Linked DNA regions of Homo sapiens: regions 1 and 3 are each linked to region 2. Evidence: promoter capture Hi-C in 16 types of primary human blood cells and fetal thymus (Javierre and others, 2016). All regions are on one chromosome and are shown on one strand. Each heading gives the region's core, a stretch centred on a gene start or on the middle of the fragment in contact. The rest is flanking DNA. Distances are from core to core; before and after follow the strand shown.

Region 1 (4,437 bases), core at 670-3,169, 360 kb before region 2:
CTGCCTCAGCCTCCCAAAGTGCTGGGATTATAGGTGTGAACCACCAGGCCCAGCTTGCTTGGTTCTTTTTTAATTGTTTCTATCTCTATATTGAAGTTATTGTTTTGTTTCTGTATTTTTTTTTTAATGTCATTGAGTGGTCTGTCTGCATTCCCTTGTAGCTTGCTGAGCTTCCTTAAACAATTATTTTGAATCCTTTCTCAGGCAATTCACAAATCTCCATTTCTTTGAGGTCAATTACTGGAATATTATTGTGTTCCCTTGGTTGTGTCATAGTTCCTGATTTTTCTTTTCTTTTTTTTTTTTTTTTTCCTTTTTGAGATAGAGTTTCGCTCTTGTCACGCAGGCTGGAGTGTGGTGGTGCGATCTCAGCTCACTGAAACCTCTGCCTCCCAGGTTCAACTGATTCTCCTGCCTCAGCCTCCCTAGTAGCTGGCATTACAGGTGCCTGCCACCATGCCCAGCTAATTTTGTGTATTTTTAGTAGAGTCAGGGTTTCACCATGTTGGGCAGGCTGGTCTTGAACTCCTGACTTCAGGTGATCCTCCCTCCTCGGCCTCTAAAAGTGCTGGGGTTACAGGCATGAACCACTGCACCCGGTCAGTTCCTGATTTTTCATGTTTCTTGAAGTTTTGCATTGCTGTCTTTGCATTTGAAGAATCAGTCATTTCTTCCAGTCTTTATTGGCTATCTTTGGGAGAGAAAAACCTTTAACAGTCAGCCCAGCTAGGGATTCTGAGGCTCTCTTACACGTTTTCTATTCATGTGCCCACTCCACACTTCTGGTTCTCACTTGGTGGGGGGATCCTTAAAATTGCATGCACTTTCTCAATCCCACAAAGCCAGGCCAGCTGTCAAGAGGCTCTCATCTGTTTTCCCTAGGGTGGTGCCCTGAAATGCTCATTTTGTGTACCTTCTCCAAATCCTGAAGAGTCAAGCTATCTGTTTGTGTGAAATGCTTGCACTCAACATCTGAACAAATGTGGTTGGGGAGCCAGCCTGGTCAGGGGTGGTGGTGAGATACATGTAGCATTTGGGGTGCCTGTGAGTCAGTTGAGGTGCTCCATAGGCAAGGTATCCTAAGAAACCCACAGGAGGGCCTCTTGATGAAGCTCATAGAGCAGTCAGTAGGGTTTGCAGCCACTCTTTCCTGCCCCCAGACTCTCCTAACCTCCCAGCTGTGCTGATAATCTTGTTGTTCTGGTTGAGGCAAGAAAAAAGTGGGCATCCTAGGCAGTATCCTGAATGGGTGAGGGAGCTGGGTACTCACTCACTACACTCTAATTTTCACCCTGTAAGAGAAATCATGGGCTGATGTGATCTGTCATGGCACTGAGCTGTGCCCTCCGTAGGGGAGGAGCAATGCAGGTAAAGTGAATCTCTTTGTGTTACCCTCTTTAATGCATCCATTCTCTGATGTTTTACTCCAGTGATGTGCTGGAACGTCACCATTGGAGTTAGTCTCATCCATGGGTAATTGTCAAAATTGATGCTTCTGGAAGGGAAATGATGGTAGAAAGCTCCTATTCTTCCACCTTGCTAATATCACTCAGGACTTCTAGTTTGTTGGCAGCATTCCTAATTGTGTTCTGTTTTTTTTGTTTTGTTGTTGTTTTTTACAAAAAAACAAAATGTTTAGAGATGGGGTCTTGCTTTGTTGCCCAGGCTGGAGTGCAGTGGCTATTCACAGGCACAGTGATAGCACAATACAGCCTTGAACTCATGGGCTCAAGCAGTCCTCCTACCTCAGCCTCCCAAGTAGCTGTGACTATAGGCACGCGCCACCACATGTAGCTGTATTACTGTTGTTGCATATATTTAGAGAGGTATAATAATGCTGGAACATACCTAACACAAAGTCATGATCTTCATTTCCAAGTGCTTTAAGTTAATTAATGGTGGTAGTAAGAGAACTTGTTTCTGAAATCTACACAATAATGTTAAGATTTCTAATCCAAAAGGATCACCTATAGAAATGAAAGTTTATGCTTCAGAAATCTTTGAATATTTTGACAGTAGAAGCTCTATTGCTAAATTAGTACATTAATTTATAACAATAATAGTGGCCTCTATTACTCTTTACTATATGCAAAGTACTATGCTAAATATTTTACAAATATCATGTGATTTAATTTTTACCACAACCCTATGAGGTAGTAACTAATCTACTTACCTTGTAAATCTCCTTGGTACAGATGAGGAAACTGAGACTTAGGTTCACATAGCAAAGTTACACAGCTGGTGAGTATATTGACTAGGATTTGAAGCTCGATATGGCTGATGCCAACACTATGTTTAGCTTCTGTTCTCAATAAATTCTTTTTGGGTAAAGGGTCTCTTTGATATAATTGTGAACACATAACACATACAAAATTGCGAACATTGATTTTTACTCATAATCTCTGTTTCTTAATTTAATATTAATGAATATTTATGGTAGAAAAATTGAAGTTGAATTTTACTTTTATTTTTTTTTTTAACTTTAGGTGGTTTTCCCGCTGTATCCTTCAGAGAACAATGACTGATGTTGCAGATTGCTTGAAAGTTTTCATGACTGGTACTAAAAATATAGCAATGTGGGTGGGCTCCAAGGACTGTTCCTTCAGACCTCAAATCCACATGCTTATAGAAGACCACATAGGTCAGAGCAAACTCTCTACACCTGTCTTTGTCAACTGTCACCCAGTTGAAGATCTCTGAAGCTGCATGCCGATTTAGGCCAACAATCAGACTATGTAGCATTTACATTTACATTTGTCTGTGTGTGATAACATGAAGCCAGAAGGAAGGAAAATTTGTGGCTGCTGGTTTCCCTGACAAGCAGTTTGAAGGTCAAAAGAAACCAACCCTGGAGGAACTCGAGTTATGACAGAGCAATGTTAAGTGTAGACCTAGGAGGGAAGCCTATAGGGCTAGGATAGGGGTGCTAACAGATAAAGTGGCAAAGCAAGAGAAGAAGGGAAAGACAGCAGATGAGGAAAGGTGCCCTATCCATAGCAGGATGCAATGCAAAGACAAATCTAAGGTTTCTGTTTCTTCACCACTCCTGGCCTAGGTCTGGCTTTGCTATTTCCTAGCAGTGTGACTTGTACAAACCCTTCCCTCTCCTGATCTGCATTTTCCCATCTGTAAATTTGGGAGTATTGTAAATATTTTTTCTTAAAAAATGAATTTGCTTATACATGTTGGTAATGGACTTATATATATGATTACCTTCTATCAAACTAAAATGAATTTCCTAAACAATAAACTCTTAAAATAACTATGCAATATATACATGAAAATAATTATTGCATTCTATTATATTCCCCTCACATCGAAACCTGGTAAATTTTTTTAGCAGGTAATTTTTTTTTTAGCAGTTATTAAAGGTTTTCGTTGGGTAGCAGTTACTCTATGGTCCCTGTTCTTTAGGAAATTCATAGTTACAGTGAGTAGAAATGTTTTCAGAGTTCATTCCCTCAGTGAGAATTGGAATCAATTGGGTGAGTCAGTGTGAAGATATGTTTTCAGAGGAACAGCAAAGCCATTTCCTTAGATTTTCATATTTATTCTCATTAGGAAGGAAAATGACATAAAATTAGTTTATATCTAATTAGAGGATTTAAAGACTTGAAGACACTAATATTTGATTTTAGGCATTTGTCTATTGCATTAATTTTTAATTTATTGCTTAAATATTAAAATTTTATTTAAAGAGATAGGCCAAGTTTAAGAATATATCATGCCATAGAAACCATTGTGATTCCTTGAATAGCAGAGACAGAGGAATGCTCCCTAAAGTTATCCATTGTTATATTCTTGCAAATATAACCCAAATTATGTATTGCCCTATTTTACAGTGGTCTGAAATAGCAAACCCATTTAAACACTGCAATATATGGGAATGTTATTTTTTGTTGGCATTAGAAAAGTAATTCTTTTCTTACTGACACCAAATTCTGCAGGAGCACTCAACAAATGGTACAAGTACAATCATGATTTGCCAGCACGGATAATTGTGTACCGTGCTGGTGTAGGGGATGGTCAGCTGAAAACACTTATTGAATATGAAGTCCCACAGCTGCTGAGCAGTGTGGCAGAATCCAGCTCAAATACCAGGTATTCAATTATTGTTCTTTCCTCCATACTCCCAATTATAGCATATTCAGCTGTAGCTATTACACACAAGGTATTCAAGCATAAGTTTTGTTTTTTATGCAATTAAGTTTTGCTGTGTTTCTGTATCATGCCAGTAGAGCTCTATCATTTCCTTCAGATTGGAGGGTAGTTGGGATGGTCTAACATAAATAGCTTGGGTGGTATAAGCTTTGGGGGCCCTGGGAGGGGAAACCTAGACAAAGAAAGGTACCCTCAGAGCAGCTGACACAGATTCAGCATGAAGCCTGCAGGGCTGCTGGCAGTGAAAATACTTCATACATATTAATATCACATGGA
Region 2 (4,728 bases), core at 1,696-4,195:
TCCAGGTACAACTCTAGAGGGCACTGTTTATAGGAAGCCCAGTATGAAGAGTGCCCTGGAGAGGTGTGTAACACAGCAGTAGTGCAGTAGTTTAGTACAGGACATTATTTTGGGGGAAAGCATATCCTTTTATAGATTCCTTCCATATTTGGTTCTCTAGAGATCAAACTTGTTCTTAAAGTCCCACAAAATAATACTTTTGATTTTAAAATCAACTATAAAGTTTAGCACTGAGGTCAGGGCTATATTTGAATAACAGTAACTAAACATAAATATATGTCACTTCTTAAAGCAAAGACATAACAAGTATTTTAGAATAGCATGGTAAATCAATTATTAGAGATGAAAGGAGGAAACAAAACATACATCTGTTAGAGGGTCATCTGCATCAAGGTTGGCGGCAGGAATCTGGTCTAACCGTGGCTTTTTTGACACTGAAGAGGAGGTTGTATGTTCTGGGGGGAAACAAAAATCATTTAACTTAGTAAAACAAATACTTCATTTCTTAAAATGTTTTAGGGACCTGTGAGCACAAGGAGCCCACATTAAAAGCATTATCCACAGTGAACTCACATCCACAGTGCCTGGGCAAATAAGCCTTTGGTAAATATTTGTTGTTATTATCTCTAATGACCTAAGAAAGTAGTACAGCTCACATCAATCTGTAAAAGTAAACAAATGGTTAACATTTTCCAATTGCTACATAAAGAAAAACTATCAACAACATAATTTTATGAGACAAATGTCTTGGATAGTGTTGGTACCTCGGGTTGGACGATCCCTATTTTTCTCTCTTGCAGCAGCTCTCTCTCTTTCTTCCAACTCTCTCCTGAAGTCACGGTTACGAACCTCTTCAGGGGCATCCTGAGTAGTCTGTCTAAAGTAGAAACAAACCAGGGCAAAAATGTTACTTAAACACACACACACACACACACAGAGACTGTAGTAATGGAAGACAATTCAGGAATGAGACTTTGTCCTTCAAGCAGAAAAAAGGGAAGTAGACAAGATCATAATTTAATCTGAAGGTTACTAACAGCCACTCTTGTGATGTTCCCAATATTTCAAGAAGTCCAAATTCAATCACATATTTTCCTATAATAAGGCTTTACAGTGATTAAAATGTCTTTAATTTTTATTAGGATTATATCAACTCAGAACTTAACAGTAATACTTTTAATATACTGACTGGTGCTCATAGTGCATACTCTGAGGCATTATTATTTCTATTATTTATTGTTCTATCTACATATGAAAATTCCTGGTTAGTAGGAATTTCACATTTTAAAATCACAGCAGAATTTTAGTGTTAAACATCCTATTGCATTCTATTCCTATGAAAATAGATAAGTGACATAACTCAAACATACTACTATATCATGACCATGCCATTTAACAGATCTGGTCTTGTTTTGTGAACAATAAAAAAAGAAAGTCTTACTACCTGTATTTTATCTTTGTATGAGAGGGTAGGTCTCTGCTTGAATACTGCTTTGAAAGTTGGCTCAAATCACCTTCTCCTTTTCCCCTTCCACCTCTGGCAGGTTCAAAGGTTGGCCTGGCTGCTGTTGTCATCTTTTATGCTTTGAAGAAAAATATAATCAAGTTATTTCCAACATTACAAACACTCATTTTATAGAGTATTAATCAATATCCATACTGGTAAAATAAGTTCTAAAACTCATTCCCCAAAACCTGCTTAATCTTCTTAAACAAAAGTTTTCAAGAAAACAAATTATGAGGCTTAGGCTGTACAAGGAATATGGCTTCTCAGGCTTGCCTTAGTACAAAAAATTCTGTCATGAAGATCTGAGTTTGCATCCCTATTCTCCTTCTGACTATATGGGCTTGAGCAAGTCACCTGGCTTAACTTTGTCATCTGTGGAATGGAGATATTCCTCATAGATTATAAGAATTATGACACTTGACATGTCAAAACCCTAGTAAAATACAGTACTGCCATGACTGAGTTTTAAAAATTTCCAACTCAACCTTACTCTACCAGACTCTGTAAGGTTTGCATTTTATCTAAACTTCACACAATAGCAAATAGGCTAGTAGAAACAAAAGCTAAAAACAAACAAAAAATATCACTGACAAAGTTACTAAATGTCCCAGAGAAAAGTGTGTTAAACTTCAATGACAGTTACACAGAAAAAAATTCTTAAACAACCGTTTGTTGAGCCAATTTTCTCCTACAACAGGCATCATACTATAAATTAGATCGTTTGTGGGTTATAATTTAAGGCCTGTTCAAAAAAAACAGGAACCTCACCCCCAGAGGATTCTGATGCCAAAAATCAGGGACTCATTCCTCAAGTTACTTTCTGCTTGGAGCAGTCACAAGAATACTGTGCAGCAGATGCAGTCACTAAAACCCTGTTAGTGTCGGAAAAGCAAGTGTGTGGGGAGGGTGGGCGAATTGGGAGGATTTTTTGGGGGGGGGGCGATGCTAATTCTCTCAACTTTCAAAAAGGGTAGAGACATGTATACAAAGAAGAAAACAGGGTTATCTGGCGCTGGGGGCGCCGCCCCTTCCCACACACCCACGGAATTATCACTCCGGCCTCCCGTGAGCTAGTCTTTGGCTATAACCAGAAACTCGCTGCCTCTTCACCCGTGCCCAGCACTGCAGGGGTGCGAAGGGTAGTGAAGGGAGGACCTGGGGTTCGCTTTACGCAGTAGGCGAGCTGCCTGTACGCTGCGATCTCCTCGGCGGGCCCAAGAGCTCCAGACGCGCCTGACAGGCACTCGGTTCCGCCCCTAGCCCGCTGCTCCAGGGCCTCCACCGCCCGCGCTCTGCACTCTGCCGCCGACTCCGACCCCAACTGCCCTTTCCCGTCCCATCGCGATAAGAAAGATAATCTCCTATCCTCTTGCCGCTCACACTGGCCGAGGTCCGATGCAGCAGGCTCCGAAGATCATACAGACGCCATTACCACTCTTGGCTCCCAGAAACCTCTGCGCCCAGAGCTAGCGCCTACGACCCGGAAGCAAAATCCAAGCGCTTCGGGGGCGGAAGCAACGACCAATCCGCAGTGGCCGAAGTGGAAGTCGGCGTAACGGCACTAAGGGGCGGGGCCGAAGCGGCCCAGGGGGCGGGCGTTTGAAATCAGTGCCTTAGAGTAGACCCTAAACCTCATTTTATACCTTCAAGAACCAATTACTTAATGTCTCTTCCGTCTTTTCCGTCCCCGACCCCCTCCCAGACTCCTTCATTCCGGTACTGCGTGGACGGAAAGCCCCGGGTAGCCGACACCACGTCCCCGGCTAGCGGGAGAGAGCGTGGAAAAGGATTACACCAAACTGTTTAAATCCAACGACTCCTGCTTCCATCCTTTCTCCTGAGCTAGAACCAACAAACCTAGAGAGTTGGGCTTCGGAAAAACTAGTGTTTTCATTTAATTGGATATGAAGAAAGAACAAATATGTACGGGGCAACCACGATCTTTACAAAGGTACCATTCCTGCAAAAATATTAACACTTCAAAGCAAAGGTTGTATTCGTAATGTTTGCTAAAATTTCTTATTTAAAAAACGTTAGTTTTAGTGGGAGGGGAGATGTCAGTATTTACGAGAGCGTTTACAATGGTGGGCCCAACTACCAGGAGCACAAGATGTAATTATTAAGATGGCTACTTAAGTGTTAAGTTTTAATAAGACAACGAAAAGTAGAAAACCCGAAAACCAAAAACCTACCAGTCGTCTCTCCTCCCTTCCATAAAAACAAATTCTGAGAATAGAGATCTTGGTTGTTTAGCTCATCTTGGTATCTCATCACATAGACCTTGACGTATAGTAGCTGCTCAATTAATATTTGTTAAACAAATGAAAATTCAACTTCCCCAACTTAGTTTAAAATGTAAGGAACTCACAAAATTGAATATTTAAATGCTTTCTTACCCCTAAATTCTTTGCAACTTTTTAATGAAGAAAGAAAAGCAGAAAAAGCCCTTTCAGTCATAGAGTTCAAGATGAAAATCCTGATTTTTCTTACCGAAGGTATCCCTCCTCCAGTCTTAACAAGTCTCACTAAAAGACGCGATCATCATGCTAGTTACTCAAACCAAAATCCCGGAGTGCCTACTTAAATTCCTTTTCATTCACTCTTCACATACGGTTCATTTACAGGTCTTAACAATTCTACTTTTAAAACTCACCCGCAATTTTATTCTACTGCCACTACCCTTGCCTTTGCCAACACCATCTCCTACCTGGATTGTAATTGCTTCCTATTATATCTTCCTGCGTCATCTTTTATCCTACAGTCAGTGTTGCATATAGCCAAGAGAGTGATCTTTTAAAATTAATAAAATGGTGTTACTATCCTGTGTACAATTTCACTGCACTTAGAATAAAAATCACATTTCTTAATGTGACCTGAGACCCCACGGAGTCTGGTTCCTGCCTACCTTCCAGACTTCACTTCCAATCAGTCACTCGCTTACGCACTAAGCTCTAGACACAGCCAAGTGGGCATTTCTGTTTTATAAAACAGGGCAAGATTCCTTCTATTTTAGGGCCTTTGCACTAGCTTTTCTCTGTTGCCTGTGCCCCAAAGTAACTGTATCACCATCCTTCATGTCTCAGGTATCACAGTGAGGTTTTCCTACCCCCACCCCTCCAACACTTGTGTTTGTACACCATCACATCACCCTGTTTCATTTTTCATACCACTAAACATTACCAGAGTCTATTCTATTCATTTTTTATTTCCATGTCTCTCAG
Region 3 (4,786 bases), core at 561-3,060, 480 kb before region 2:
ATTCCAAGGGTGTCTCTGATTGGGTGACTGAAAAGCCGGATTGGCCTTAGGAATACTTTAGTAAAATTCTTACATTTTACAATAAAGTAACAGGACCAGAAAAGTTACTGGACATGAGTAATACATTTAAACTTGAGTTTAGTGCTATTGCCACTAGTAATAAAGTTTAATACCACATTAAGATTGTATACTGTTAAACTTGTGAGATTAGGTATCAAGAAATCAGTATCTTGGGGTTATGCCTAACTCTGGAACTTCTCAGAATCCATTCCAGGCAAAATCAAGTGACAAGACTTTAATTAAATGTAATGCTACACATACTTCTTAATGCCTTCTATAGACAAGTAGGAGATAAATATAAGTTAAATGTGGTCCTTATCTTTCAGCTTATAATCTTTTAAGGGGCTAAAACAAGAACAAAGTTAGAGGTGAAATGTAGCACCAAAAAAAGTAGAAAGCAGAAAGCGATCTAAATGAGAGGATCAAGAAAGAATGAAAGAGATAACATCAGAGAAGAGCCTTGAAAGACTGATTATATTTCAACAAATAGAGTTGAGAGGCTGGGAATTCGTATTTGTAAATTATCTATTGGTTATTCTCCTTTTCTTTAATTGATTAAGGTTTATATGTTGTGTAACCCTTTAAGCTGATATTGGTTTAAAAATTAATATGGCAGCTTAGCAGAATAAACATCAGTTCCTTCAGGAAGCCTTCTTTAATCCCTTAGGACTAGGGGAATTATGAACCTCCTGTATACTCATGGTTTCTAGACAAGGTCTTGTAGTAGTACTTATCATGTTGTCTTTGCCAGACACATGATGTCTTTGCCAGTCACCTACACTAGAGTAAGCTTCCTGAGGTGAAGACATGGATCTTGCTCATTATTGAATCCCAGTACCCAGAAGTTGGCACATACCAGACATTCTATTCATATTAGTTGAATGAAGGAATGAATGACAGCCAAAATTCAGTTGAAAACAAGGACCCAACTAAGAACTATAGTTGCCTATCAATAAACAGGACTACTTTTTAAAGCAGTGAATTTTCCTAGGCCTGAAATTATCAAAGTAGAAATAGGATAATTAGTGTAGATGCTGTGATAAAGATATATGTACCGATGACAGATTGGAACAGATGTCCTTTTGGGGGCTATTCCATCTTCAAGAATCCCTGATTCTTCGAAATAGTATTTTTAGGAATTAGAAGTTTTTATTTCTGCTCTATATTATCTGTGTGTCTAGTTTATAAAAATCTTGAATGCACCTGTCTTCATTGTATTAGTTATACTTCAAAACCTTTAAGCATTCATCACTGTTAGCATAACACCATCATACCTAAACCAGTAGATTAAAAATAATAGTTATAATAATATAATTGACTTAGAAGAAAACAACAAAAGTAAGAAGCATTAGACCACTATTAGATCATAGTTTGTTGTTTTCTGTCAGCATCAGTATTTAGTGTATGTAAGGGATATCATGAGAAAAACAAGAGTTTAGACAGGGTTTAATTGTATATGTTTGCAAGACTTATCTATGCAGTTGATAAAGCCTGAATTATTGTTTTACTAATAACTTTTGTATTTGTGTTTTCAGATCTTGATGAACAAAGCAGTCATAATTCATCTCTAGAAAGATTTATATCCTGGCATTTGAAATGCTTTTTATTTAGAATAGTAGTAAAAAATGGAAAAAGAAAAAGGAAATGATGATGGAATACCAGACCAAGAGAATTCCTTGGATTTTTCTGAACACTTTAACCAACTTGAATTGTTGGAAACACATGGACACCTTATTCCTACTGGTACTCAAAGTCTTTGGGTAGGCAATTCTGATGAAGATGAGGAGCAAGATGACAAAAATGAAGAGTGGTATCGATTGCAAGAAAAAAAAATGGAAAAAGACCCAAGCAGATTGCTTCTTTGGGCTGCTGAAAAAAATCGGGTAAAAAAAAAAATTACAGAGGGAAGTGTGACAGTAGGAAAAGCACTGGGTTCAAGCCAGAAGACCTGCCTTTACTGTTATGGCCATCATACCTATCTCTTGATTGTGAGGACCAAATGAGACAATGTACATGAAAGCACATATTAAGCTGCAAAGTGTCATGCTAGGTATTATTTGGGGGTTTAAGGATAATTATCTATAAAGATAGCAAGCAATCATCTATATTTTAAAATCATTTATATAAAGTCATTAGGATCATTTAGGAAAGAGAGGATGGAAACTAACATTTATTAAAAACTAACTATACCAGGTACCTTATTACATTATTTTATTTAATCATCATGTATCCCTATAAGTAATATTCTTCTCTTTTATAGAGTAAGAAATTGAGATTCAGGAATATTAATTTGCCCAGGATCATCGAAGTGGAATGAACATCAAAAGCCTATTCCCTCTGCTTGGCCACTTCCACCTCATTTTACTAAGTTTCCCCATGTCTGTGTTAGTAAACTAATAACTAAAAGGGTCTCGCATTTTAAATAGCTTTTTAACCCAAGAGCATGCCACATTTAACCAGAGGCCCATAGAACAAACTGAAAATTACAACCTAAAAGGTTGTTTCTAAGGTTGTATTGAGAAGGAATTGAGCTCTTGAATCCCTAGAATTCCTTATTAATACTTTATTCTTCTGTTAAAAGTTTTATTTTTAAAAGTTTCATACAGTGTGTATATTGGTGTGATAATCCTACAGAAAAATCAAGCAGTTATGTTTTCTTCACAGATAACACATAAAATATTAAACAGAAAGCCTATGTTATTCATTGGACTGAAGCTTTTATGCAATAAACCTTAGTTGGACCAGGAGTAAATGTATGGTTTGATATTCAGAGAATCTCATTCTTAGAAGCAACAAAGTGTAGTTAACACTAACTTGTTCATTCTTAAATCAGTAGTCCTCTCCTCCCCAAAAAGAGATCTTAAATTATTTTCATTTTAAAGTCATCTACTAACAAGTAAGTTTTTATTCAACTTAATTAAATCTAACACCACAAGACAATTTTGTTTTAGTTATTGTTTTGGTTTGAGTTGAGTTGAAAGATTTCTTTTTTTTCTTCTCAGCTTACCACAGTGCGGAGACTCCTTTCTGAAAAGGCCACTCACGTGAACACTAGGGATGAAGATGAGTATACCCCTCTTCATCGAGCAGCCTACAGTGGACACTTAGATATTGTTCAGGAGCTCATTGCACAGGGGGCCGATGTTCATGCAGTGACTGTGGATGGCTGGACGCCCCTGCACAGTGCTTGTAAGTGGAATAATACCAGAGTGGCTTCTTTCTTACTGCAGCATGATGCAGATATCAATGCCCAAACAAAAGGCCTCTTGACCCCCTTGCATCTTGCTGCTGGGAACAGAGACAGCAAGGATACCCTAGAACTCCTCCTGATGAACCGTTACGTCAAACCAGGGCTGAAAAACAACTTGGAAGAAACTGCATTTGATATTGCCAGGAGGACAAGTATCTATCACTACCTCTTTGAAATTGTGGAAGGCTGTACAAATTCTTCACCTCAGTCTTAACAATTCTAGTAATTTTCCTAAGTTTCTAAATACCAGTGCCTCCTGTGTGTGAGATGTATTCCCATAATCAAAGTTGACGTCAAACATCTTACTACAAAAATTCAGTGACATTCATTATAACATTCTTCCAAGTGAATTGCCTGACTTTGATGTCAAAATGTATTTGAAAGTAATTTGCATATATCTTTAATTATTTCTGTGGAGTTTGTGATTTTTTTATCAGAAATAATTTTAATGTGTGTATACTTAAAAACTTGACACGGGTTGTACAGAAACTGGTATTTTTGGTGCTGATACAAGAGAAATGTATTTTTAAATATCCCACATCCTGGATCTTTGTTGGGTATTTAGTATATTGACATATATTTTTATAAGGTGAGGTAACTCAGAACTTAATTTAAAAGTCTTAAATATTCTGATACAATTCAGCTGTCTTCTCTACCTTACCATAGCCAGTTGCTTTCATTTTAAACCAGAGCAAGTAACATATTAGTGACTTGAATCTTCATAAGTTAAAGTAAAAAACAGCAAAAAACCTAGATCTTTGTCTTTTAGAACACAGACCATTTTCAGGAAAGCAGTTAGCTAAGTGTTTAATTCATGAATATTGTATACTGCATCCCCTACCACAATTTACACAATCCTGTGGATAGTCCTACCTCACCCTGGTCAACCTACATGATCCTTAAGCTAATGGCGAATCACGATGACCTTGTAGACATGCACACAACTATACCTTTGTCCAACAGATCATAATATATCTGCTATCCAACTGGTTTTACCTGCCTAATCCTACTGATTTGGGCACTGCTTGTATAGTCTCTCAAGTTCACAGGAAATGTTGATTTTCTAAGGTCCTCATTTTTACAGAGTATACAGGCAAAGTGACAGGGGAAAAGGAATTAGTCTAAGAGTAAGGGGATGATTATTATATTGAGGCTAAAACCACAAAGTGGCTCAGGCTTTAAAAAAAAAACACTGTGGATAATGACAAAAAGCATAAGTAAAAATATTTGAGAAAAATAAAGTACAAGTTTTGAACAACACAAAAGGCATGAATTCATTTTTTACCTGTGTATGTCTTTCTTGGATCCAGAACATTATTCATCCAGCACGCACTTAGTTATTTAACATCTACTCACTCAGTCTCTCCAGCAGCAATTTTGCATTGTCTATCTAGCCCCCCTGTGATTGTTCCCAAAGTTTTGTCTTCTCAACACCACAACACTCCAGGGGAAGGGAACTAAACCAGTTGCTCTTTA

The links. The method cuts DNA at HindIII sites, captures the fragments that hold promoters and counts their contacts. A CHiCAGO score of 5 or more calls a contact.
Region 1: a fragment that was not itself captured here is called in contact with the fragment with the promoter of CWC15 in region 2 in 1 of 17 cell types (megakaryocytes); the score reaches 7.0 in megakaryocytes.
Region 3: a fragment that was not itself captured here is called in contact with the fragment with the promoter of CWC15 in region 2 in 4 of 17 cell types (total CD8 T cells, neutrophils, fetal thymus and 1 more); the score reaches 6.0 in total CD8 T cells.

What each region holds. Positions count from the first base shown.
Region 1 is chr11:94,614,007-94,618,443 of GRCh38, forward strand. It overlaps PIWIL4 (piwi like RNA-mediated gene silencing 4), which reads left to right. Exons shown (of 20, transcript NM_152431.3): 16 at 2,487-2,557; 17 at 3,948-4,101. All of the region lies in intron 4 of PIWIL4-AS1 (PIWIL4 antisense RNA 1), which reads right to left. Among named protein-coding and RNA genes, the nearest start is that of LINC02700, 22 kb to the right of the region's middle. The HindIII fragment of the contact is 4,774 bases long and covers 1-4,306 here.
Region 2 is chr11:94,970,611-94,975,338 of GRCh38, forward strand. CWC15 (CWC15 spliceosome associated protein) reads right to left here and starts at 2,946. Exons shown (of 7, transcript NM_016403.4): 1 at 2,888-2,946; 2 at 1,445-1,583; 3 at 765-877; 4 at 367-455. The coding sequence starts at 1,575. KDM4D (lysine demethylase 4D) reads left to right here and starts at 3,099. Exons shown (of 3, transcript NM_018039.3): 1 at 3,099-3,458. RefSeq lists enhancers at 2,223-2,998, 2,713-2,882, 3,203-3,352. The HindIII fragment of the contact is 9,854 bases long and covers 1-4,728 here.
Region 3 is chr11:94,495,009-94,499,794 of GRCh38, forward strand. ANKRD49 (ankyrin repeat domain 49) reads left to right here. Exons shown (of 3, transcript NM_017704.3): 2 at 1,596-1,943; 3 at 3,063-4,570. The coding sequence starts at 1,686. The coding sequence ends at 3,524. It also overlaps a transcript of MRE11 not described here. Among named protein-coding and RNA genes, the nearest start is that of ANKRD49, 3.4 kb to the left of the region's middle. The HindIII fragment of the contact is 1,925 bases long and covers 849-2,773 here.